2 separate regions of the Homo sapiens genome follow, and region 2 is linked to region 1. The links are contacts of gene promoters, found by promoter capture Hi-C in blood cells and fetal thymus (Javierre and others, 2016). All regions are on one chromosome and are shown on one strand. The core of a region is centred on a gene start or on the middle of the fragment in contact, and the rest is flanking DNA. Distances in the headings are between cores, read along the strand shown.

Evidence for each region. The method cuts DNA at HindIII sites, captures the fragments that hold promoters and counts their contacts. A CHiCAGO score of 5 or more calls a contact.
Region 2: a fragment that was not itself captured here is called in contact with the fragment with the promoter of EPHA4 in region 1 in 1 of 17 cell types (M2 macrophages); the score reaches 6.3 in M2 macrophages.

The regions. Positions count from the first base shown.
Region 1 is chr2:221,570,439-221,574,386 of GRCh38, reverse strand. It overlaps EPHA4 (EPH receptor A4), which reads left to right and starts at 2,083. Exons shown (of 18, transcript NM_004438.5): 1 at 2,083-2,229. The coding sequence starts at 2,139. RefSeq lists silencers at 618-777, 828-1,107, 1,708-2,127. The HindIII fragment of the contact is 12,678 bases long and covers 1-3,948 here.
Region 2 is chr2:219,734,075-219,738,022 of GRCh38, reverse strand. LINC02832 (long intergenic non-protein coding RNA 2832) reads right to left here. Exons shown (of 2, transcript NR_185880.1): 2 at 95-569. Among named protein-coding and RNA genes, the nearest start is that of LINC02832, 6.1 kb to the right of the region's middle. The HindIII fragment of the contact is 4,545 bases long and covers 62-3,948 here.

The DNA.
Region 1 (3,948 bases), core at 834-3,333:
CCCCCGAGTACATATTTTTTCCCTTTTTACTTGTGTGCAATCAGTAGCTACAATGACTGAAATCCACTTCTTTGGACTGTGACATTTAAGCAAATCTTGTATCTAGAAACCGAAATGCCCAGAGTCTCGCACAAGCTGTTCGTCTGGGCCACCAACTCACACAGCCGCCGCCCAGCGCCTCGGCACGCGTGCTCATCTTGTGTAAAAGTAAAAGTTGCTCATGTCATTAGCTCGGCTCTGAGTTTGCATGAGAAACCAGCGCAGCTCTCGAGCCACGGGAGAAAACACGATCTGCTGCGGAGCCCAGTGACCTGAAACTGTAGCAGTGACTCGAGACCTGTCCTCTCCTCGACGTCGCCCTATAACCCTCCCGCTTTATTTAGGATCCGCTTTTCCGAGAGCAGCCACTCAGGCAACCCCCGGAAGGTTTGTTAGGAGTTTCTCCTTGAAACGCTTTCCGATTCCATCTTTTGAAATCCAGCAGGCGAGAGTCACGACAGACTCCAGGACCTCTTGAGCGCTGTCCGCAGCCCCACGGTAGGAGTAGCCCTAGTGCACGAGACTTGGCGGTGGCTGAAAAGCTCGCCCAAACGCACGCACCACCTCTCTGCGGGGTTGCGGATTGCGGGTTGCGGTCTTTGTCCGCTCGCCCTTCCTCCGGGGCCGCACACTCCCGCATCTGGCCGGCAGGTGGCGCGGTTGGCTCACGATGAGCTGCGGCCGGGGCTGGAGAGGCTCCTCCACCTCCCAGCGGCCGCCCGGCCGCCGGGACCCAGGCTCCCCAGGAAAACTCGGCCCTGCTCTGGAGGGAGTCAGAGGAGGGGCGGCCTGGGAAGGGGAAGGGAGGCCTCATTGCTAGGAATCAGTGCCCCTGCCAGCGCCTGGGGAAATGCACCGAGTGGCGTTGGGGACCGGTCCCTGGGACACCGGCTGCGCTGCCTTCGCCGGACCGCTCTTAGGTGGCCGCGTCCACGGCTCGGGCATCGGGAAAAGACCACAGCCCGATGGTGCCAGTGCCCCCGGGGCCGGAGCAGCCGGGCGGGGCTCTGCGGGTCCTCCTGCTCGCCGTCTTCTCCCGGGGCAGGGAGGGCTGCCCCGGCTAGGTCGGAGCGGAGAGTCGCAGCAGCCGCTCCGGGCAGCTTCCCAGTCCCGGTCTGCCTTGTCTGTGCGGCTGCAAGTCCCCGCACCCACACTTAAGCCTTTCACTTCTACCCCACCGCTCCCAGACGGGCTAGGCCCGGTTCCAGGGACTGCCCCCAACCCTGCCCCCGGGAAATCCACAACTGGTTCCCTGCCCAAGGCCATCTCGGGGCGTCCTGGGCCCTGGGCGAGGTCCACGGCGTGTGCAGGGGGACGGGGCCAGCGGGGACTTCCTTACTGCTAGAAAGTCATTCGTTCAGTCTCTGGAGACAGTGACGGAGCCCTGCTGCGGACTGGACGTTGGGGACCAAGTAGGTCCCCGCTCTCCAGGCATCTGGGGAGCCAGGGAAGAAGCGAGTGATAGAGCCACAAAACTCCCCGCAAAGAGTATTTCAGAGGGGGAAGCGCCATAAAGACAAAACAGGGCAAGGTGGCAGAGGGTGGCGGTGGCAGGCGCGAGTCTGCAGCTCAGCCCGGGCGCGCTGGACGCAGACACGTCGACTCTCCTAAAGAAGCAACCGCAGGTCAGCTTAGACTTCTTTTATTTCAATAAAAGAGCGTTTTCCTCCATCTTAAACCGCCCGTGGTGGGAGAAAAGGTTTCCAACCTCTTCTCTGGCTCCCCTCGGTCAATTCCGAGCTTTTCCAAAGTCCCTCCGCCGTCCAGGGGCTCGACCTTCGAGGTAACGTGGGGGATCCCGCTGGCTCCCTCCGGCAGGCGGGGGCGGGGACCGGCCGTGCTCGCCCCCTAGAGCCCCGGGAGACCGCGCGCCCCGTGGAGCCCGGAGGGGGCGGAACCCTGGGGCGGGCCCTGCTCGGTGAAGGCGGGGCTCGGCCGCCCTGTCTGCGCCGCCATTGGCCGCGGGCCCCGGACTGGCGGGCTCACGTCACCGGCCGGGCCCGCCCCCTTGGCAATGTCTTCAGCCCGCTGCTCTCCTAACTTAAGCATTTATTCCACTGGGATAGAAGCGGCAGGAGCAGCGTTGGCACCGGCGAACCATGGCTGGGATTTTCTATTTCGCCCTATTTTCGTGTCTCTTCGGGATTTGCGACGCTGTCACAGGTTCCAGGGTATACCCCGCGAATGAAGGTAAGAGCGGGACGGCCTTTCTGTGGTCGGGGACAGCGAGGGGCCATCGCGGGTGAGGGGTCCTCAGGAGCGCAGGGCCAGGTGGTGCGGGGGGAGCCCAGTGTGAATGGTGCGTCCCGATTCGGGAGAAGGGGGCTGAGGCGAGGGGATCGGCGAAGGGGCAGCGGGGAACCGCCGGACAGCCTGCCCCGAGGCGGTGACCCGTGCACGCGGCGGGTCTGTCCAAGTTTGTAACCAAAGGCCAAAGTTTATCAGCATCCGCCAGAGAGGCCCGCTCGAGGCGCCCTGAGGGGATGCACGGGAGACAACGCCGGGATTTAAAAAAAAAATTACAAGAACCACGTCCTCTCCTGAGCCAGCCCGGGGCGAGGGGAAAACGCAGCCTGGAGCACAGTGAAGGCTTGGTGCTCCCGGATTCTAGCGAAAGCCTTTCGAGCTCTGGTTTCTGCAAAGTTTCCCGAGCCCTGCGCTTCTCGGGACCGGGCTGCGGGGCCTGCTCCGCAGCGCAGCGGTCGTGGCGCCGCTCGTCAGGCGCCAGTGACCTGATTTCTAGCACCCGGAGTCAGACACCTTTCTCCTCGCCAAGCCCAGCGCCCCGAGGGTGCGATTGCGGGCCTGAGGGGCCCGAGCTCTTCGCCCCGCAGACTTGGGGAACCCGCCGGCAAGTTGAACGCAGTCGAGTTTTAGCTTTTCGCCCCAGAATTGCACACAGTTTAGAGCTAACGTGCGGGGTCGACGGGACCCGTCTGGGTGCTCAGTTTTCTGTGCATCCGTTCGGACGTGCTGGGAGGATTGTATGTGCCTGTGTGTCTGTGTCGGGAGGTGGGGCGGGGCGGGGGGGCGGTGATCATTTAGTTTCTGAGAAACCCAGGGAGAGGCGAACTGTGTGTGTGTGTGTGTGTATGTGTGGTGTGTGTGTGCATGTCTGCGTGTGTGTGCATGTCTGCATGTGTGGTGTGTGTGCATGTCTGCGTGTGTGTGCATGTCTGCGTGTGTGTGCCTGTGTGTGTGCGCGCGCGTGCAACTGCGTGTATGTAGGTGCGCGAATGCCTGCGTGGAAGCGGACGCGGAGGATTGTATGTCTGTGCGCAGATGTCCTGAGTGTGTGCGCGTGTGTTCGAGTGTATGCTCGTGCTCTGTTCCAGCGTATGCTGGTGCTCTGGCCTGCGTGCATCTAGTCTCACATCCGTCTCTCATTCTTCTCCTTTCCGGCATCCATCTATCTATCCGTCCGTCCATCCGTCTATCTATCCATCCATGCATCCATCCATCTCTCCGTGCATCCGTCCGTCCGTCCATGCATCCATCCATAATGCATCCATCCATATATCTGTCCGTCCGTCCGTCCATCCATCCCTCCATCCATCCACCCATTCATCTATCCATCCATCCACCCATCCATCCATCCATTCATCTTTCCATCTCTCCAGACATCCGTCCATCCATCCCTGTGTAATCTATCGTTTTCTCTGTTCCGAAGGAGGGAGCCAAAAACCAACTTAGCCTTGGCTGGGCAGCCGGTACCCGGAGCCCTCCAGACGGAGGCTCTGAGAGATTTATACACCTGCCCACAGACATCGCTTGGGAGGAAAGGGGCCCTCTCTCGCCCTCTGGATCTCCCATCTCCTTCCGACGTGGCTTCTGGTGGTTCTGGTGCCATCTCGGCCGTCGCCGCCCCTCGGTCCCTAGGGTTATTCATTCCCCTGAGAGGAATCGTGG
Region 2 (3,948 bases), core at 1,085-3,584, 1.8 Mb after region 1:
ACCTCTGGTTAACATTAAGAGTAGAAATCTGTACTTGATAAAGGACTTCTGTTCCAAAGCTTTTGAAGGAGGAGAAGTGAAGCTATTTCTTTTCTTTTTTTCCTAGTAAATATTTGTATCAAAAATTCTCAAGTTTGTCGCTATTAAAACGAGGTGATGTAGGTGTTTTCATTGGTACTAAGAGGAGCAGGTAAGCTGTGGACTACTGGTAAGCTGCTGGAGGCAAGACTTGATTTGTAGTATTTGCCAATTTCTGGGTTATAAATACTCCCACCAAGGCTGATTTCAAGCTACCAATGGTTTAACAACCAGCTTGCAAAATTCCTATTTAACCAGAGTCTCTGGCAAGTCACCACCAGCTGGCTCCAGCCAACTTCTGCAGGGCATGCAGGCTGAGCAGTGGCAGGTGACCCAGCACAGAACCAGCAGGGAGAGCCAGAGGCCTGGAGAGCAGAGGAGAAATCCCAAGGGTGATGTCAGGAACGCAGGCAGATCCTCCTTTCCAAGATGCATCGCTTCACGAGCACTACTGGAGGTCCAATGTCATGGTCATCCAGCTGTCCCACTTCCTGGAAGGGAGAAGCACATTTCTGTTCTTTGGGATGCACTACCTTATCCCCTGCACACTGTGATTGTGCCATCTGCAGTCCAAGGGAAGAGCAGCAGCCACAGAGAATACCCCAAATCCACCGCAGTCTTAAACTTCCAACATGTCCACAAGAACTTTAGTTTACAGAATAAAGAAAACAAAGGGAAGGAAGGGAATTTTATTTAGAAAAGATCTTCACTAACCATTGTAAAACCAATGAGCCCCACTTCCCCAGGGACCCCAAGAAAATGCCAATGGTTTCCTCCATAAAGTGAGGAAGAGAAAAGGAGTTTCCAAAATCCATGTTTGGATTTGGCCAGACACGTGCTGAATGCTTTTCCCCAGCAGATAGCAACAGGACCCGAGCAATTCCATCACCCATCTACCCCTGACCTTCTGTAGATGACACCTCTTGACTGACCTATACTCTGCACACTCACGTATAATTCATTTAGAACTTCATTCTGTGATCCAGTGTGTCTCAAATAAAATACAAACATACATTTTTGTTTCCAAAACCAAACCAAATGCAAAAGCTGAGACTGGGGCTTATACCTCCCTAGCTTACCCTTCAGTACCCAGCCCTGAGCTCTCCACTTGGCCAATGTTCCATACATTTTTGTCTTTCTCCCCTGCAGAAATTCACCAGGGGATTCTCTCTAAAGGCTTATGCCAGTCACTTCCAGGGTGTTATGAAAACCTATTTTTTGGCCCATGGGGCAGAGAATTGGGTAGAATTTGAGCCAGCACTGGCAAGCATTAAACTAATGCTTGATGAAGTGGATTAACTAAAAGATAGGATTATCAATACATAACCTAGTGGTTCTTATTATATGTATGTGAGTTATCCATTTAAGAGTCCAGGTAGGGTAATACGTTTAAACAGTGCATACGTAAGAAGACACAGAGGGTGTGAATGATGCATATGTTTCCACCAGCCCTCTGGCTGTGCTTCAAGCTGAAAACTCCTGCATTTCCTTGGACTAAGGAACCACAACTAAGAAGGCATTTATTGGGAACGATAAAGGAGAAAGGGTGACCTCTGCTGGGGAAATGAGTTTGTATCTCATTATTTTCTCCAACTCTGTGAAGAAAAAAGTGAATAAAGTGGGAGGAGGTAGAAATGTAACAATGTCCTCCAGGAACAAATGATCATTTTTCCCCACTAATAATTTCTACAATCTCATCAACAAAAGGTCATTGTTTGTTTGGCACATGAACTCTTTAATGATGTGTAGAAATGAGATTCGACTAGGTTTTATAGTGTTTAATAATCATTCTCTAGAAAAAAATGAAGAAATGCTTTCATTTGGAACTGAATAATTTGCTTTATTTTCCTTTTTCTTTTTTGATATTTCACTAATGAAATGAAGAATCTGCAACTGCTTTTTAAATATGAGAACTACTTAGAATAAATGAAAGTCCAGCCCCCAAATGTCTCATTAAGGTCTACAAGTATTCGTTGGATAAATCCACATTTTAGGAATTAAAATATTAAAAACACTTTCAAACAATCTCTACATTTTACAATTGAATGTTTTATGAAGAATGGGAAATACATTACATCGCTTTAAAACTCAGCAATGCTCAGAACAAAATCACTTCTTTGTCGTTCTCATTACATTGCTTGATTTCACTCCTTTGCGTGTCTTTCATCGCCTTTTGACGAGCAAAAAACATGTGTTGTGCCACTGGCCCTCCAACAGCATTCAGTTATTAGTCAGACTTTCCCTGATTCTAGACATCACTTTGGTCTTTAGCTTTGCCAAGTTTAAAGCAAAATACCTAATTTCAAGTTTTCCATAGAAAAGCTGGGCAAGATCCTTTTAAATCTAGCTTTTTAATTGTGTGATGCTGGTGCACATGTAATTCTTCTGTGTGTGTAATTAGGCTCATCAAGGGAGGGAGTGAAGAGGGGACACACAGGAAAGCAGACTTGGAATATCATTCAGAGTTATAGAAGCTGGATTACACTTTTGGGAAACCGTATGTCCTTTGGGAGTCATGACTATAAAAGACATCAGTATCCACTGTAATGGAACCCATGCTCTATCTTTACCAAAAAAATTTAATAAATCAACTTAAATAGAGTGTTTCTTTAAATACCTGTTTATATGTCCTACATAATAAAAGAATTGTATCTTTGTCAGATGCTTTGCTTAAGCTAGTGCACGCTTCCTTCCCACTTCCCTCAGCCTGATGACACAACAGACTATTTCATCGTCAACACCTTTTTGGAAATTGGGCAGAGAGGACAGAGAAAGGGGAAAGAGTAGATTTAACGTTTATTGGTTGGGTTCCTGCCTGGGCCTAAACTGGGGTGGGTGGGGAGGAGAAAAGAATAGGAGTGAAAACAGGTCAAACAGGACTCATTCCCAGCACTTGCCATGACCTCTTCACTCCCTTGCTTTTTCCTCTAATATCATAAACGTATTCATTCTTTCCTCAGAATATCAAGGAGATGTATTCTTCCTTGAAGGCAATGTTTTTGCTTCCTTTTGTTTTATTAAAAAAGTAGACAATGAATTAAGAAATTAATCAATTCTAAATGTTCATATTTATTTAAATGCCAGTATGCATCGAGTTTTTAAAAAATTAACATAAGACCCTAAAAATTCAAGTAATTGTATCTAATATTAATGACAAGAAACAGTAAAGATGGAAGAAACATATTCCTGAAACCATATGTATTTCTTAGAAAAAGGTGACCTTACAGGTGTAATCATTCATATTAGCATTCGATAGACAACCATCAGTTAAGTAAGTCACTACAAAGGCCTAAGTCATTTCTCTCATTTGATTAATATTAAGCACCTGCTGTATGCCATGCACTGCGCCGGGCATTAGGGAGACAACTCTAATAAAGTCAGATTTCCTTCTGGTCCTTCTGGAGCTTATAATATCATGCCAGACATCAATCAACCATCCACAATTTTAAATATAAAATTACAATAGTGATGAGTGCTACCACTGAGAGGTAGATGGTGCTACGGGAGCATTGTTTTTCTTAAAGAATTGTGTTTTTAAAATCCATCTGCATAGTGGGAAAATCCAGCATTGTTGAATTCTGGCCTAGGGCAGAAATAGCTCAAATCAAAGAACTAAAATCAACATTTTATAGGAACAACATGACCGAGCAAACTCTGAGGTAGTGGTCAAAAAGGTGCTTGATTCAATTTAAATATATTTGTTCAGCATCTATGCTATGTAAAGAAGTGCTTATCAAACTTTCATGTGCTCGGGAATCTCTTGGCAATCTTATTCAATGCAGATTTTGCCTCTGTAGGCTCAGGGTGGGGCCTGGGATTCTGCATCTCTAGCAAGCTGTTAAGAGATGCTGATGCTTCCGGTCCCTTCAT